Linked DNA regions of Homo sapiens: all the other regions are linked to region 1. Evidence: promoter capture Hi-C in 16 types of primary human blood cells and fetal thymus (Javierre and others, 2016). All regions are on one chromosome and are shown on one strand. The core of a region is centred on a gene start or on the middle of the fragment in contact, and the rest is flanking DNA. Distances in the headings are between cores, read along the strand shown.

What was found. Contacts are between HindIII fragments. The CHiCAGO score rates a contact against its expected background, and 5 or more counts as called.
Region 2: a contact is called between a fragment that was not itself captured here and the fragment with the promoter of FMNL2 in region 1, in 4 of 17 cell types (M2 macrophages, M1 macrophages, M0 macrophages and 1 more). The highest score is 11.3, in M2 macrophages.
Region 3: a fragment that was not itself captured here is called in contact with the fragment with the promoter of FMNL2 in region 1 in 4 of 17 cell types (M2 macrophages, M0 macrophages, M1 macrophages and 1 more); the score reaches 6.1 in M2 macrophages.
Region 4: a fragment that was not itself captured here is called in contact with the fragment with the promoter of FMNL2 in region 1 in 2 of 17 cell types (M1 macrophages and M0 macrophages); the score reaches 7.4 in M1 macrophages.

What each region holds. Positions count from the first base shown.
Region 1 is chr2:152,332,878-152,336,879 of GRCh38, reverse strand. FMNL2 (formin like 2) reads right to left here and starts at 1,706. Exons shown (of 26, transcript NM_052905.4): 1 at 1,160-1,706. The coding sequence starts at 1,276. RefSeq lists silencers at 647-746, 1,257-1,906. The HindIII fragment of the contact is 3,556 bases long and covers 1-2,748 here.
Region 2 is chr2:152,211,068-152,215,069 of GRCh38, reverse strand. No RefSeq gene overlaps it. Among named protein-coding and RNA genes, the nearest start is that of STAM2, 37 kb to the right of the region's middle. The HindIII fragment of the contact is 6,835 bases long and covers 1-4,002 here.
Region 3 is chr2:152,232,150-152,236,151 of GRCh38, reverse strand. No RefSeq gene overlaps it. Among named protein-coding and RNA genes, the nearest start is that of STAM2, 58 kb to the right of the region's middle. The HindIII fragment of the contact is 1,134 bases long and covers 1,439-2,572 here.
Region 4 is chr2:152,250,173-152,254,174 of GRCh38, reverse strand. No RefSeq gene overlaps it. Among named protein-coding and RNA genes, the nearest start is that of STAM2, 76 kb to the right of the region's middle. The HindIII fragment of the contact is 180 bases long and covers 1,592-1,771 here.

The DNA of each region.
Region 1 (4,002 bases), core at 457-2,956:
ACCCGCAGGCAGGCACAATCGTTGGCTGCCCGGATCACGAGTTTCCCTTGCTGCCTAGTCTTGTGGAGTTTAGAGGTAACCAACTAGGAAAAGAGAAGTGTCCAAGTGTCAGGAGTAGGAATGAGCCCAATCTCGCCTGTGTGTGTCCCTCCCAACATCCCTTAGAAGAGGCTGGGACACTAAAACTGGTAGTCTGGGGGACCAACAGCAGTCCAGATCCTGGCTGGGGCAAGCCGCCACACCCTCTGCAGCTCACAGCACAAGCCTCGGCTGGGAGGGGCCCAGACACTGTCCCAGCAGGAAAGGGAGAAAGAGGGGAGTTTTCAGAGTCCTGGATTTGAGGAGCTGGAAAGCTGGGAGAAGCGGAATGCAGGAGGGAGCGGGGGACCTGGCTGGGCGTGCAAGAGGAGGGGAGGGGTCGCCCGTGCAGTCAGGACAGCTCGCAACACGTCCCCGCAAAACTCCACATTTTTGTGGTTTAAGATTTAAGTCTAGAGGGAACGCGCTGAGGTTCTCCCCGGCCTGGGTTTCAGATGCCCCTGCTCCTCGCCAAGGGCCGGGGCGCCGCACTGCTGTGGGTCTCCGCTTTCCCTTTCGGGGAAGCTCCCCTTGGCCAAGCCGCGACGTGAGCCCTCCAAGTTCGCCTCCGCTCACCGCCCGGCGCGGCGCCCGCGGCCGGCCACATGCGCCCCATCTGCCGGGGACTTCGCAGGTCCCGGGCTGGCCGCCCGAGGGATGGTCCGCAGGGGCTCAGGGTGTTTTGTTTTGTTTTGTTTTGTTTTGTTTTTTTTAAAAAAAAAGCCTAAGCGGCTCGCCACCTCCTCCTCCCAGCCCGCGCCACCTTCTCTTCACGCCCACGCCGCACCTCCCGGGCACACGCGCCGTGAGGTGCCTCTCCAGCCAGACAATGGGTTCGAGGCTGGTTGGGCAGCCGGCCCTGAGCCCCCATCCCCATCCCGGGACCCCGAGAGACTGAGCGCGGGGGACTGCCAGGGGGGTGAAGAGGAGTGCTGGGGGGCCACAAAGGGGAAAGCGGGAGCCTCCCCCTCGGGAATGGAGGCTCGCTCCCGGCACGGGGTGAAGGGGAGGGGCGGGGGTCAGCTGCGCCGCCCGGCCCGGGGCCCCGGGTCCCCGCGCCCGACCGCCGCCGCGCACTTACCAGCACGATGGCAAATCGCTCCTCCAGTTCACCTGGCTCTGGCATCGGCAGCTTCAAAGGCACGTTGTGCGCCCTGAAATCGGTCTGCTGCGAATCCATGCTCCCTGCGTTGCCCATGTCGGCGGCGCGCCGGGGCCGGGGGCTGCTCCGGGCCCCTAGCGTGCGCGTCGGAAATCAGAACAGCTCCCGGCGGTCGGCTGCCGCCCGCAGGCGCGACCTGCCCGGCTCCCCGCCCTCCGCCGCGCCCAGGCGGGTGTGCGGCGCGCACCGCTCCCTAGCAGCGCTCCAAGCCGAGCCGCCCCCCGGCCTCCCTCATGCTCTCCGCCGCCCCAGCGCGGCCCCGGCCTCTTTTCCTCGGGAGGGGTAGTTGGGGCGCTGGGCGCCTATGTGCATGGTGCTCCGCTGGCACACCGCCCCCTGCCAGAGATCGCGGCCCCCGGCGCGTGGTCCCTCCTACTCGGCCTTCTGCCGGGCCCGCGGCCGCCGCTGACACTTCCAGCCCTAGCCGGCCACGGCTGCGCCTGCCTGGCTAGCACCTGGAGCAGACAAATGCAGCTCCGCGCTCCCCTACACAATGCCACCTCTCGCCCGGCGCCCGGCCCCCGCCCCCGGCCCGGCTCCGCCCACTCGCCCCGCGGACTGCCGGGACGCGTAGTTTCTCTCCAAAGTGTCCGCGCGCAGAAACCACGCCTGCTCTAGAGCGCCAGGCCGGGTTGGGACCATTTGCAGCAAAGGCGATCCGTAGTCTCTGGAGATAGCATATTGTCACTTTTGACCCTCCTCACCCCAACAGTGGAATACTTACATCGTGTATATCATGTTGACACTTGGTAGGCGGGTCTGACCATGACGGAATCGAATCAATGAATGAAGGAATGCATGCCTTCTGATTAAAATTCAGAAAATCGTTGCTGTTTTTAAAAGATCTAGTTCAGTAAGGAACTTCGAAAGCACTGGCAAAGTTCTGTTTCATAAACGGGGGGGTGGGTCCATGGGTGCTTGTTTATCGTTCTTTCTTCCATATATATGTTCTTTGGTGTGATTGAAATGTTTTATAAACAGATGTATAATTTATGGGTATATATAGTCAGACCCTAGGAGCTAGGTAAGGATTCAATTCAATTTAAAAAAAAAACCTGTCAAACACCTATTATGTATGGGATATTGTGTTCCTTGGTGGGAGAAAAAAGAGATTTGCCCTGCGCTGGAATACTTGCCAATCTAGTGAAGGAAAAAATGTACACACCCATATTTCATGTGAGATGGATATAATGATAGAGTGTTCTGGGAGACTTTGGGATGATCTTTGGCTGCAGCTCTCTTATTCCTTCACAGCAGTCTTGAGCAAGGTGTCTTACAGAAAAGATTGGACCTGACTCTGTCCTCTGGGGTGTATTTCAGACTATAACTACCCGTTCTGAAACCTCGGAAATAGAAATAGCCTTATAAGAGACTTTAGCCAACTGCTCATGTGAATGTTAAGGGCATACATCTGGTTGACTTGTGGCTGAACTTCTGCAGTTAGTCCTTTCTTAGTTTAAAGCAGTGTTTCTTAATCCTAGATGTGTATCAGATTCGCTTGGGAAGCTTTTTGTTAAAACTACACACACCTTGGGCTCTGCGTATTATCAGAATCTCCCTAAGCTGAGAGCCGAAGCCTGGGCCGGTGTATTTTCAACAAGCTCCCCAGGTGATTTTGATATGCAGGTAAGGTTGTTATCCTTTTAGTAAATAGCAAGTGTTTCTGGACAAGGTAGTACACCAAGATTCAATCAAGGACATTTCATTCATCTTTATAAACTTCAAGATACTTTAAACATAGTAGACGCCCAAGAACTATTTGTGGAATTGACAAGTGACTTTTTCCAAAAGCATATGACACAAATACACACAAATACATCATGTATGTTCTATTAAACCACTTCTAGTCTTTAAAGAATGGAGACAGTATAAATAAATTCAACTTAAAATTCTGAATAACTGTAACCTGTATTTCTAAAGCAGTGTTGTATCAAAGTTAATAGCAAATGTGTTACTGATCTGAGAGAAAAGCAGGGCGGTTTAGATACACACACACTCCAAACTAATGAAAATGAGAGAGAAAGAAAGCAGTTCGGACCAGGTGAAACATTTCTGACCCACAAATGTATTTATTTCCTTGTAATCTCTAGACATATACTTTGGATCTGATTGACTCACAAAATCAGCCCACCCAGAGGGTTGCCCATCTGGATAAAAAAGGCTGGAATTCTTTTCTGCAGTTGAGAAAGCCTTTTTGATTACATTTATGTCTCCCTGCGGCTATATTTCTGCCAGTAACCAAGACCTTTTTCTCCCCTTACGTCTTATCACATCTAGTCTCTCTCATAAGCTCACACTTCGAGGGAAGCCAAGGAAAAAGTGTGCAAATCTATGAACCAAAAGAACTTTCCTGCCATTTCAATGTTTGGAATCTCTAATATTTGGTTGTTATTTGTGATTATTAAGAGGAGAAATAAACACTCCATAGGCTTGTACAATTTCTATAAGAATCCATCAAAATCTTAGGAAATTCTTTGCGGGGAGACGGCATGGAGGGAAAGGAAAGAAAAGACATTTCTATTACCTTAATTGTAGCACTCTTCCTCCCCACAGAATTAAAATCAAGCAATCATTTAAAAATGTATATTCCATTTATTATTATTATTATATATGATTTGTTACAGCTCATGTGCAAAATATTGGCAAAAAAGAAAATGTCTGGGCCGGGCATAGTGGCTCACACCTGTAAGCCCAGCAGTTTGGGAGGCCAAGGCAGGAGTATTGCTTGAGCCCAGGAGTTTAAGACCAGCCTGGCAACATGG
Region 2 (4,002 bases), core at 1,041-3,540, 120 kb after region 1:
GGGATCAGAGTTAATGGTGGAAATAATTGGCCAGGCATGGTGGCTCAAACCTGTAATCCTAGCACTTTGGGAGGCTGAGGGGAGAATCAATTGAGCCCAGGAATTTGAGGCTGCCATGAGCTAGGATTGTGCTACTGCTCTCCAGCCTGGGTGACAGAGTGAGACCCTGTCTCTTTAAAATAAAAAAGGTGGAAATAATGAAATCATAGTAATCTAAAAGAAAATATATCTGAATATTTTTCTGAATTCTAAGTAGGAAATTCAGAGAAAACCACAAAACATTAAACACGTTCTTTTCTTCTAAATTCTTCACCTAACAGATTTAAAAGCAATTATATAGTTGTGCCCATAAACATACGTAAAATGCATAAATACATATTTAATTGTATGTGTATATGTAAAGTATATGTATAAAATATGTCATTGGGCCTATACATATAAAATTATAATATACTTTCCAATATCCCTTATAAATAAAGAGAAAAAAATCTTCAGTAAAAACTAGAAAACTGTATTCAGCAGCATATAAAAAGGATTATATACCATGACCAAGTGGAATTTATCCCAGGAATACAAGGTTGGTTCAACATATGAAAATTAGCCAATGTAATATATCATATAAATAGAATAAAGAGGAAAAAATTGTCATCTCAATAAATACAGAAATAATATTTATCAAATTCAACACCATTTCATGATTTTAAAAAAACAACCTAATAAACTGGGAATAGAAGAAAACCTTTTTTTTTTTTTTTTTTTTTGAGATGGGGTCTCACTGTGTCACCCAAGCTGGAGTGCAGTGGCACAATCATAACTCACTGCAGCCTTGACTGCTTGGGCTCAAGCAATCCTCCTGCCTCAGCCTCCTGAGTAACTGGGACCATAGGCACATGCCACCATGCCCAGATAACTTTTGTATTATTTGTAGAGACAAGGTCTCACTTTGTTGCCCAGGTTGGTCTCAAACTCCTGGGCTCATGCAATCTTTTTATCTTGGCCTCCCAAAGTGCTTGGATTACAGGTGTGAGCCACTGCACCAAGCCGAAGGGAACTTCCTTAACCTCACAAAGGGCATCAGTGAAAAATCCACAGCTGGCTGAGGACAATGGCTCATGCCTGTAATCCCAGCACTTTAGGAGGTGGAGGCAGGTGGATCACATGAGGTCAGGAGTTCAAGACCATCCTGGACAACACAGCGAAACCCCGTCTCTATGAAAAATACAAAAAAATTAGCCAGATGTGGTGGCCCCCACCCTGTAATCCCAGCTACTTGGGAGGCTGAGACATAAGAATAGCTTGAAACTGGGAGGCGGAGGTTGCAGTGAGCCAAGATGGTGCCACTGCACTCCAACCTGGGCCACAGAGCAAGACCCCGCCTCAAAAAAAAAAAAAAAAAACAAAAGAAATATCCACAGCTAGCATTGTATTTAATGGTAAAAGACTAGATGATTTTACCATAAGATTAGCAACAAGGCAAGGATATCCACTCTTGCCACTTTTATTCAACATTGTACTAGAGATTCTAGCCGGGGCAGATTGGAAAAGAAGTAAAACTAAATCTATTCTCAGATAACAAGATATTGTATATAGAAAGTCCTAAAATTTTCACTAAAAAACTATTGGACCTAATAAATGAGTTCAGCAAGTTTGCAGGATGTAAGATCGATATGCAAAAATCAATTGTATTTCTTCTAACTTGCAGTAAGCAATCTGAAAATGAAATTAAGAAAACAATCCCATCATAATAGCATTGAAAATAATAACATACTTAGGAATGAATTTAATGAAAGAAGTGAAAAACTTAAATTCTGAAACCTACAAAACTGTTGAAATTAATTAAAGAAGATTTAAGTGAGTGGAAAAACAACCCATATTCACGGATCAGGAGATTTAATATTGTTAAGATGGTGCTATGGTTTGGATGTGGCAATCCTGACAAAACTCAAGTTTAAATTTGATTTCCAGTGTGCAGTGTTGGCAGGCAGGACCTAGTGGAGGTGTTTGGGTCACAGGGGAAGATCCCTCATGAATAGATTAATGCCCTCTCATAAGAATGAGTGAATTCTCACTCTCCCAGGAGTGGAATGGTTCCTAGGAAAGCAGGTTGTTAAAAAGAGTCTGGCTTCCTCCATTTATCTTTTGCTTCGTCTCTTGCCACATGATCTCTTTGCACATACCTATGCCCCTTCTGTTTCCTACCATGAGTTGAAGCAGCATGAGGCCCTCACCAGATGCAGTTGCCAAATCTTGAACTTTTCATCCACCAGAATCATAAGCCAAATAAATCTCTTTTCAAGTTACCCAGCATTCAGTGACAGCAACACTAAACAGGACTAAGAAAAATGGCAATAATCTCCAAACCGATCTACAGATTTAATGCAATTACTCTCAGCATCCAGCTGGCATCTTTGTGGAAATTAACAAACTGACCCTAAAATTTATATGGAAACTCAAGGGACCCAGAATAGCTGGAACAATCTTTTAAGAAGAACAAAGTTGGGGGACTTCCCAATTTCAAAACTTACTACAAAGCAACAGTAATCAAGACAACGTGCGGCCAGGCATGGTAGCTCACTCCTGTAACCCTAACACTTTGGGAGTCTGAGGGGGGTGGATCACTTGAGGTCAGGAGTTTGTGACCAGCCTGGCCAACATGGTGAAACCCACCTCTACCAAAAAATACAAAAATTAGGTGGTCATGGTGGTATGCACCTGTAGTCCTAGCTACTCAGGAGGCTGAGGTGGGAGAATTGCTTGAACCCAGGAGATGGAGGTTGCAGTGAGCTGAGATTACACCACTGCACTCCAGCCTGGGTGACAGAGTAAGACCCCCCCCAAAAAATGTGATGCTGGCATAAGGACAGACATAGAGATCAATGGAATAGAACTGAGAATTTACTCTAAACCCTCTCATTTACAGTTATTACCTGCCTGCAAGGATCCCAAAACAATTTAATGGAGAAAAATAGTCTTTTCAACAAACAACAATGGGACAACTGTATAGCCACAGGCAAAAGAATTATTTTCGACTCCTACCTCATACTATACAAAACTTAACTAAAAATGGATCAAACACCTAAACATTAATGTCAAAATTATAAAATGTAAGAGCTAAAATCTTCTCTGTTTTTGAGACGGAGTTTTGCTCTTGTTGCCCAGGCTGGAGTGCAATGGCACGATCTCCGCTCACCACAACCTCCGCCTCCTGGGTTCAAGCAATTCTCCTGCCTCAGCCTCCCAAGTAGCTGGGATTACAGGCATGTGCTACCACACCCAGCTAATTTTGTATTTTTAGTAGAGATGGCATTTCACCATGTTGGTCAGGCTGGTCTAACTCCCGACCTCAGGTGATCCGCCCACCTCGGCCTCCCAAAGTGCTGGGATTATAAGGCATAAGCCACCAGGCCTGGCCTAAGAGCTAAAATCTCCTAATCTTAGAGGAGAAGATAGGAGTAAATCTTCATGACCTTGGATTCTGCAACATTTTCTTAGATACGACACTAAAGGCATGAGCAAGAAAAATAACAAAAATAGATAAATTGAGGTTTGTCAAAATTAAATACATTGGTGTGTCAAAGGATACTGTCAAGAAAGTGAGCCAAGGGCAATGATTCATACCTGTAATCCTAGCACTTTTGGAGACCATGGCAGGAGGATCGTTTGAGCCCAGGAGTTCAAGACCAGCCCAGGCAGCATAGTGAGATCCCAGCTCTAAAAAAAAAAAAAAAATTAGTTGGGCTTGGTGGTGTGTGCCTGTAGTCCCAGATGCTTGGGAGGCTAAGGTGGGAGGATCACTTGAGCCCAGGAGGTCAAGGCTGCAGTCAGCTGTGATTGTGCCACTGAACTCCAGCCTGGGTGACAGTAAGACCCTGTCTCAAGAAAAAGTGCAAAGACAACTCACGGAATGGGAGAAAATACTAACAATTCATACATTGGACAAGATTGGACAAGGGCTTGTATCTAGAATATATAAAGTACTCCTACAATTAAATAATAAAAAGA
Region 3 (4,002 bases), core at 756-3,255, 100 kb after region 1:
TAATTTTCTGGGAGCATGTTTAAAAATTTTTTATTGTTGTTATTGCTGTTGGCATTTTTTTAAAGAGTCAAAATTCACTAGAACTCTCCCATTTCTGAACATGCATAAAAACATGTTAAACAGATGTTTTTCCTCATTTACAACACCAATAATTCCAAAGATATTCAAAGGGCTTTTTATTATATTCTAAAGGTGAGACATTTACAAACATTCATCTAGGTAGAACAGATAGTGAGGGCTGAAGTATGTTATGCTGACTCAAATTGGTTGTAATAATTGGAATCAGGAGAGATTGTACGTAAAATATGGGACTGGAACACAATAGAAAATCTTACCGAGCTTTGTCAAAATACGATAGTGCTTATTTCAAAGTACCATGCTGGGAGAGGAATTATTTACTATTATGAGTTACAAGTAATGAGGTGAAACAAAATGGGAAAATGTAGGGAGCCTATCTGACTTCCTAGTAGTGAGACTTATTTAATAGTAAGGTATCTTCTGCCAGGGAAAATAAATCCATATTAAATGAAGCATTGAAAACCAGCCTGGACAATGCACTAGAAACTGTACACTGAAATATTCACCAGACAATGGGGAAATGAAAGGACTAACCAAACTTCATACACCCTCAGTACTCGAGGGCCCCATTTTATCCCTTTTCAGCATTCACCCCATTTCAGAATTCTAGGACTGAATGTTCCTAAGGAGATCATTTCTTCATATACATAGCTCAGCACAAGAAACTGTTACATCCTGCAAAAATTAATTATAAAATTGCTCCAGCCCATAGTGAAGGCTGAGGTGATAGAAAACATTGGGGCAGACTATGATGAATCTCCAGGCTTGGCCATTGTTAGACTCCACCTCATTTCTCTCTGCCTTCATCCCTCAGCTTTCTGTAGATTGGTCCACAATTTGCTTAGGCCTTGTCTCGGTTCTTAAGCAAATTAAAAAAAAAAAATCCTGCCCCCCTCTACTTCTTCCCTGCCCCCAGTCTGTTAGGACTTAATATTATTAAGTTCATTACCAGCCTAGGGTTCTAGAGACTCAATTACTACTGTTGCAGCTCTGGGTTCCTTTTCCAGCATCTGAGATCTCTATTTCTTATGACCATAAGTACAACCATGATTGTGCATGCCTTATGCCCAAGTCCCCAGCAATGACTACCTTTGCTGACATCTCCTACCGTCACCACCCACGGCCCTATGGCTTTGTACTCATGGGCTAAGATGCTAAAAACAGAACCCTTCCCCCAATGCCTCCCAGGTCCCTTCTTAAAAGAGAATGTACTATTTCTTTGCAAGAACACCACCTTATTCAAGACTGAGGATCTACTAGGGTACATTTATGAATATCTAGGTCCAAGTTTGTCCAAATGGGCAAGATCTTAGTGGTCCTTGGTATTAGATTTACTTGCCCAATTTCCTCAATCCAAGCTTTTCAGATCTGGGTTCTATATTGTCTTACTGCCCAACAAATCTACTTTCTCTTTCTAATTCCATCTTATGTCTGTGCTCTACATTCTCCTAGGCACTGAAGAAATAAGGGCCCTACAAAGTTCTTAAGGTGCTATCAAGATCTCCAGAACACTTTGCTCAAGATCTTTTATACCATCAGATCCTACCTTGGCTCCAGTCTTACAAGACTCTGCTCATTCCTAACTCTGACTCATCCCTTTCTCTGATTCTCCTTTTAATTTATTGCATCCTTCTCATTTGGATGCCCAGAACCCACCTGTCTTTCACTGGCACCTAACCTCTCCTAGCTGTATAGAGCATGACTGCCAAAGTAGCATATAGTTTACAGTACAGAAATTTCCAAACAAGGAGTATTCAGTATGTCACATGCAAACTGGAGAGTTAGATAGGAGGAAAGCATTCCCCAAATGAACACATTTAATTTAGGCCTAAAATGTCTGGTATGAACCTGAGCTAATATAATTAAATTTTTCCAAAATGTAGGTGCTCAAGAAGAAAAAATGCAAATGATGATTTACTAAAGTGGTGAAATCAAACAGAATGCCAATGTACAGGACTGGTGGGAATGAGAGGAAATGAGTGTTTTCATAAATGATTAATGGAAATGTAAAGCAGTACACATTTGGGAGAAAGTAATTTGGCAATATCTATTGAAATTTAAAAGGCACATACCTTTGACCTAACAATCCCACTTTAACAAATACTTATCAAGTTAAAAACCAGAAAAACCATATTGAGCAAGGAGATTGGTCCAGACCCTCATGGAGCAAGTTTTCATGAAGGAGATAGAAAAATGAATCAAATCACCAAAGAGACTGATGTTACTAAACTACAATTGTGATGTATTTTATGAAGGAAAATGCATAATACATGCACATGAGGGGACTGATCAAGTCTGCAGAGTCAGGAAAGAATTCCCTGTGGAAGTGCGATCAAAGAATGAGTAGGAATAAGCAGAGCAAAAGGGAAAAGTGTAGGAGTAAAGTGGGTGTAAAGGAGGGGAAACATACATTCCAGACAGAAAGAACAGCATATAGAAGCATTTCCTCGATCTCACCACATCCACCTATTACACAGGTCCAGCAAGCCAAGCTTATTCCCATATGAGAGTCTGCATTTTCTGTTCCCTTTGTCTGAATGCTCTTCCCCATCATCTCTGCATGGCTGGCTACTTTTTCATAAGGTATTATAACAAATTATAAGAAATCCCACCTCTGCCAACTTAATAAGGAGCCAGTTAATCATTTTCCTTTTTTTTTTTTTTTTTTTTTGAGACATAGTCTCACTCTGTCGCCCAGGCTTGAGTGCAGTGGCGCGATCTCGGCTCACTGCAAGCTCCGCCTCCCGGGTTCACACCATTCTCCTGCCTCAGCCTCCCAAGTAGCTGGGATTACCGGCGCCTGCCACCACGCCCGGCTAATTTTTTGTATTTTTAGTAGAGACAGGGTTTCACCGTGTTAGCCAGGATGGTCTCAATCTCCTGACCTCGTGATCCGCCAGCATTGGCCTCCCAAAGTGCTGGGATTACAGGCGTGAGCCACCGCGCCCAGCCAATCATTTTCTCTTATATCAGCTTCAATATATTCTCAGCATAGTAATTTACAGTGATCACTATCTGATACTTGTCTTGCATATTTATTTTTGTGTTTGTCTTTTGTATGTCTTCTCCTGCTCCACTAGAAGTAAGCACCATTCAGAACAGAAGCCTTGCCTGTATTTTCATTGATATTACTTGAACCTTGAAGTAAACAATGATGTTCTGCAGATGGAGGGAGCATGGGAGAACATTGGAGGAATTGAAAGAAAGCTGGTGTGGCTGAAAAGCAGAAAGTAAGGTGGGAAAGTCAATCTGGCTATAGATGGAAACTCTATTAGAGTAGATAAGAGTGAGTGACAGAGCTCAACTAGGGAGATATTACAATGGTGAGTGATGGTAACAGCATGACTTAGTTGGGTAGCAGTGGAGATGGGGAAAGTGGATGGACCAAAGAAATATTTAGGGGTGCCGGGCACCCTGGCTCATGCCTGTAATCCCAGCACTTTGGGAGGCCGAGGCGGGAGGATCACGAGGTCAGGAGATCAAGACCATCCTGGCTAACAGGGTGAAACCCTGTCTCTACTAAAAATACAAAAAAAAAAAATTAGCCAGGCATGGTGGCAGGCGCCTCTAGTCCCAGCTACTCGGGAGGCTGAGGCAGGAGAATGGTGTGAACCTGGGAGGCGGAACTTGCAGTGAGCCAAGATCACACCACTGCACTCCAGCCTGGGTGACAGAGCAAGACTCCATCTCAAAAAAAAAAAAAAAAAGAAAAGAAAGAAATATTTAGGGGGTAAAACTATGCTGGGTGATTAATTTTATAAGGGTATTTATTTCTGCTTGTACAACTGTTTGAATGGCAGTACCACTGACTAAGATAGAAATACTGAGGAGGACTGGGTTTGATGGTATTATGAGTTTAGTTTTAGATATAATGAGTTTGTGGCAGGAGGATTTATGGGTCAGGGGTCATGAAGAGAGGTATGG
Region 4 (4,002 bases), core at 432-2,931, 83 kb after region 1:
ACTAGGATATAAAGTTCAATTTCCTTAGTGGTAGAGCATAAATTTTGATAAGTGTTGCTAGACTATGTACTCTGACTCAGGTACAGGGAGTTCAAGGACTGTTTCATCTTCCAAATATTCCAAAATGAGTTGCAATCTTTTTCCTTTGTATTTTGGTGAGTGTGAATAAGGTCTCTGCAATTTAAATTAACAATATTGCCTCTGTTTGAAAACCTTGTCACATTTTATCAGTAACTTTCCTCCTGTTTCTAACACCTTTTATTGGCTCCCTATGGTGAATTTATGTGTTTGCCTTACAGTGTTCTGTGTTGAAGAATTTAGTGCTGTTACAGTTAACTGGAACAGAGATTCAATATATATTTCAAAGTTTCTAACAACCTAACCAAAAATGTCCAACTCAATAAATTCACACAAGGACCTAGAGTTGGTCAGAGCCATTGTCAATTGAAAATCAAACTCCTGCCAAGTGCTGTGGCCCACACCTGTAATCCCAGCACTTTGGCAGGCCAAGTTGCATGGATCACTTGTGGTCAGGAGTTCAAGACCAGCCTGGCCAACATGGTGAAACCCCATTTCTACTACAAATACAAAAATTACCTAGGCGTGGTGGCGCACGCATGCAATCCCAGCTATTTGGGTGGCTGAGGCACGAGAATTGCTTGAACCTGGGAGGTGGAAGTTGCAGTGAGCCAAGATCGCATCACTACAGAAAGAAAAGAAAAGAAAGCCCCCCAAATGCTTAAACTTTATATAACCACAATCAGTTCTCCACATTCTACATTGTTCATTAATTCATTCAACATTTGGGCACCAACTATAAGTTGAGAACCATGGTAGGTGATGGAAATGTGGAAATGAAAGGCCCAACTCTTCCCAGGTGTATAGGTAAGACAAACAAGTAAAAGATAATAATATTAGTGCTATGATGGAGGACAGCATAGGGGGCAAATAGGCAAATGTTCCTTGCTTGGATGCAGATGGGAAGTCACAAAAGATGTCTGGTATCTGAGCTAAGTTTCGAAATTCCAGGAGCAGTTATTTAACCAGCTACGAATTGGCAGAGTGGGTTACTGGAGGAGGTAACAGCATATGCAAAGGTTCAAATGAAAGAAAGACCTACACGGGACAGTAAGAGAATCCCCAAGTGATTTGGCATCTTGGAGCATCAAATGGGAAAAGTGACAGAGTTGAGGCAGGAGGGATTAGCAGGGACAGATTCAAAAGACTGAGTTCTGCAGTGCACTGGAGGCACCTTGGAGACACTGATAAAATTTAAGCATCTTATGGCAGGGCGGAAGATTTGGTTAAGGAAATTAGTTAGGTAACTTTTGCAGTCATTCAGGTGAGAAATTATAGGACTTTGAACAGATGGGGAGGTAAAAGAGGAAACAAACACTACAATTGCTTAGGAAGTAGTGTCTGTTAGGTTTGGTAATTGGCTATCTAAGAACTTATGGAGGAAAGAAACCAGGTGATCCTTTTCTTTTTCTTAAAAGACCAAAGATCTCACTGGAGGTATAAAGTCAATTTATACCTTTGACAGGTCACTTTATAAGTGTGAAATTCAAGTAAAAAGTTGAGCCATGAAGCTTCTCTTTTATCCAGGGCAGGGTGAGTTTCCCTAGGTTTGTGCTATTGGGCTTGTAGTTTACAGAAGAAAGTTTAGACAGGCTGTCTTTTAAAGGAATCTAAATTTATTTACTAAACGTATTCTTTTTATGATAATGAAAAATGAATTGCCAATCATCTTATACAGCCATATACTGAAGCTTTAGCTTCCTTCTTTTTGTCAGATCTTAAAAAATGCTATATGGCTAGAGCTACTCCACCTATATCCCAGCTCCTATAATATCTACCTTATCTGATGAACGTGAGGCAAGAGTAAGCTCAGTCTTCTTTGCAGCTTCATCAGGATAAGGAAATAAGAGTAAGTAGAGCATTCCAACATGTTTTTAGTATAATGAGATCACATTTGTCCTCAACACAGAAAAATACTGTTGCCATCTTTACAGTTAGTTTTTTTTTTAACTTAAAAATCATCCATATGTGCTCAGATTCCAAATGACAAAAGCCATTCATTTTTGTCTACTTCAAGTGAAATGGAGTCATTGTTTGAAGAAAAGATTACAGGATTATAGCTAAGTCTTTTCCCCTGGGGAGTGAGTGGCAGTTTAGTAGCAACCGTGTGGTTCTGCCACATGGCTGGATCACAGCACCACATCCTCAAACCAAGGGCGGGGCAGACACACAGTGGGGACTGGAAATCATAAGGGACAAAGGAAAGGAGAAATCTGTCATTTGAAAGGAAAAAAGAATAAAGAACAGAAAGAAGTCTCCTGAAATTCCAAGTTTTTAGGTTTAAAGAGACAATGTGACATGCACAGCTGTAAGAAAAGCTGCTTCATGTCCCACATTTCTGGTCACACACAGTTGCCGGTTGAGTCCTGCTGACTGTTTCTCTTTGCCTCACTTTTCTTTGTTAACGCTTTTCTTTGCAAGATGCTGCAGTGAACAACTGGAAGAGTGACCTCCGTCCCGGTACCAAACAGGTGACTAAAACAAGCCTAGAGAACCAAATCATTGTCTTTGGACTAAAACACTTATTTCGTTCATTTGAGGCTTCTGACTTCCTTTTGGATCACTATCTTGAGATGCCCACATGTGGCCTCCAAAGCTCTTTCTTGAATAAGTTTATTTTCCAAAAAGTGATATATGCCATATGTTCAAGTGTTTAATAACAGTTCTTTTTCTTGGCTGCAAGCTAGGGGATGAATAGAAGTGCAGCATAGGAAAATACGATAAAGAACACAGTTGCATCTCTTGAGGAATTGAAGTTGTTTTAAAACATGTGCTAAGAATTCCTTGCCTGATCTTTGGGAGGAGTAGTTTGAAAGTTTCAGTGTTGTTGTCACCATTTTTCAGATATGGAAAGGAGGCAGACTAGTTAAGCAAGCCTGGCATGCGATGTAAAAATGTATCAGGGTCCAAGGAAATGTTTTTTAACCATTACTGACCCTTCAACTTTTTCATGAAGTTCTCACTTAAAGTTCATAGTTATTATCTTTGCCTCATCCCACTATATTAGGCTAAGAATTACAGCACCTAAGCCTCCCCAAGAATATAAAAGCCATCTAAGGTCCAGCTGTATCAGTTATTCTTTTGATTAAAAGAGTCAGAAATACATTTCAAATTGGTTTAAGCAAAAAGAAGTTATTGGTTCATATAGCTAAAGCCAAGGAGTATATCTAGCTTCAGGCATGGCTGGATCAAGGTGCTTACATGATAATGCATGGAATCTGTCTTTTTCTCCAAGTCACAGATCTGCTTTCCTTTATGTTGGATTCATTTTCTGATGTGGTGGCAAGATGATTATTAGCAGCCCCAGGTTTGGTAATACTAGTAGAAAGAGATTCAATTTCTACATAATCCTTTTAGCAATTTTAGGCAAGGCTCTCATTGGCCTGACTTAGGTCCTATGCCCATTCTCGAACCAGCCACAGTGTCAAGGGCTTGAAATATGTTTAACTGGCCCTCATGGGAGCCAAAGATGGATCCGACCTCACTCAAACCACAAGGACAGTTTGAACAGCTGCAAAGTTGCCCAAAAGACAGTCGTTACTGATACCAAAATGGTAATGGATGTTTGTAGTAGGCACTGTTGGCTGCCTATCCAAAATCTACTTTCCTCTTCTTCCTTGCTAACTGAACCCTGACTATGTTTAATTATCTACTCTCCTCCATGTGGCTATGGGCTTAGATAAGGGATAAGAGAGTAGAGTGGCAGCCAGGTACAAAGTGTCAGAGCCTAAGTAGGATGTCGGGGGGCATCCTGTTCACAGACAACACTGACAACATGTCGCAGCTCAAGTGTATTGAGTGCAGAGGGCATCCATGCAAAGAAGGGGTTGGTGATGGCCTGTGAGAGGATGATTACCTTCAGGGCAATGATCAAAGACCTAATATATTACAAACCAGGCGCGATGGCTCATCCCTGTAATCCCA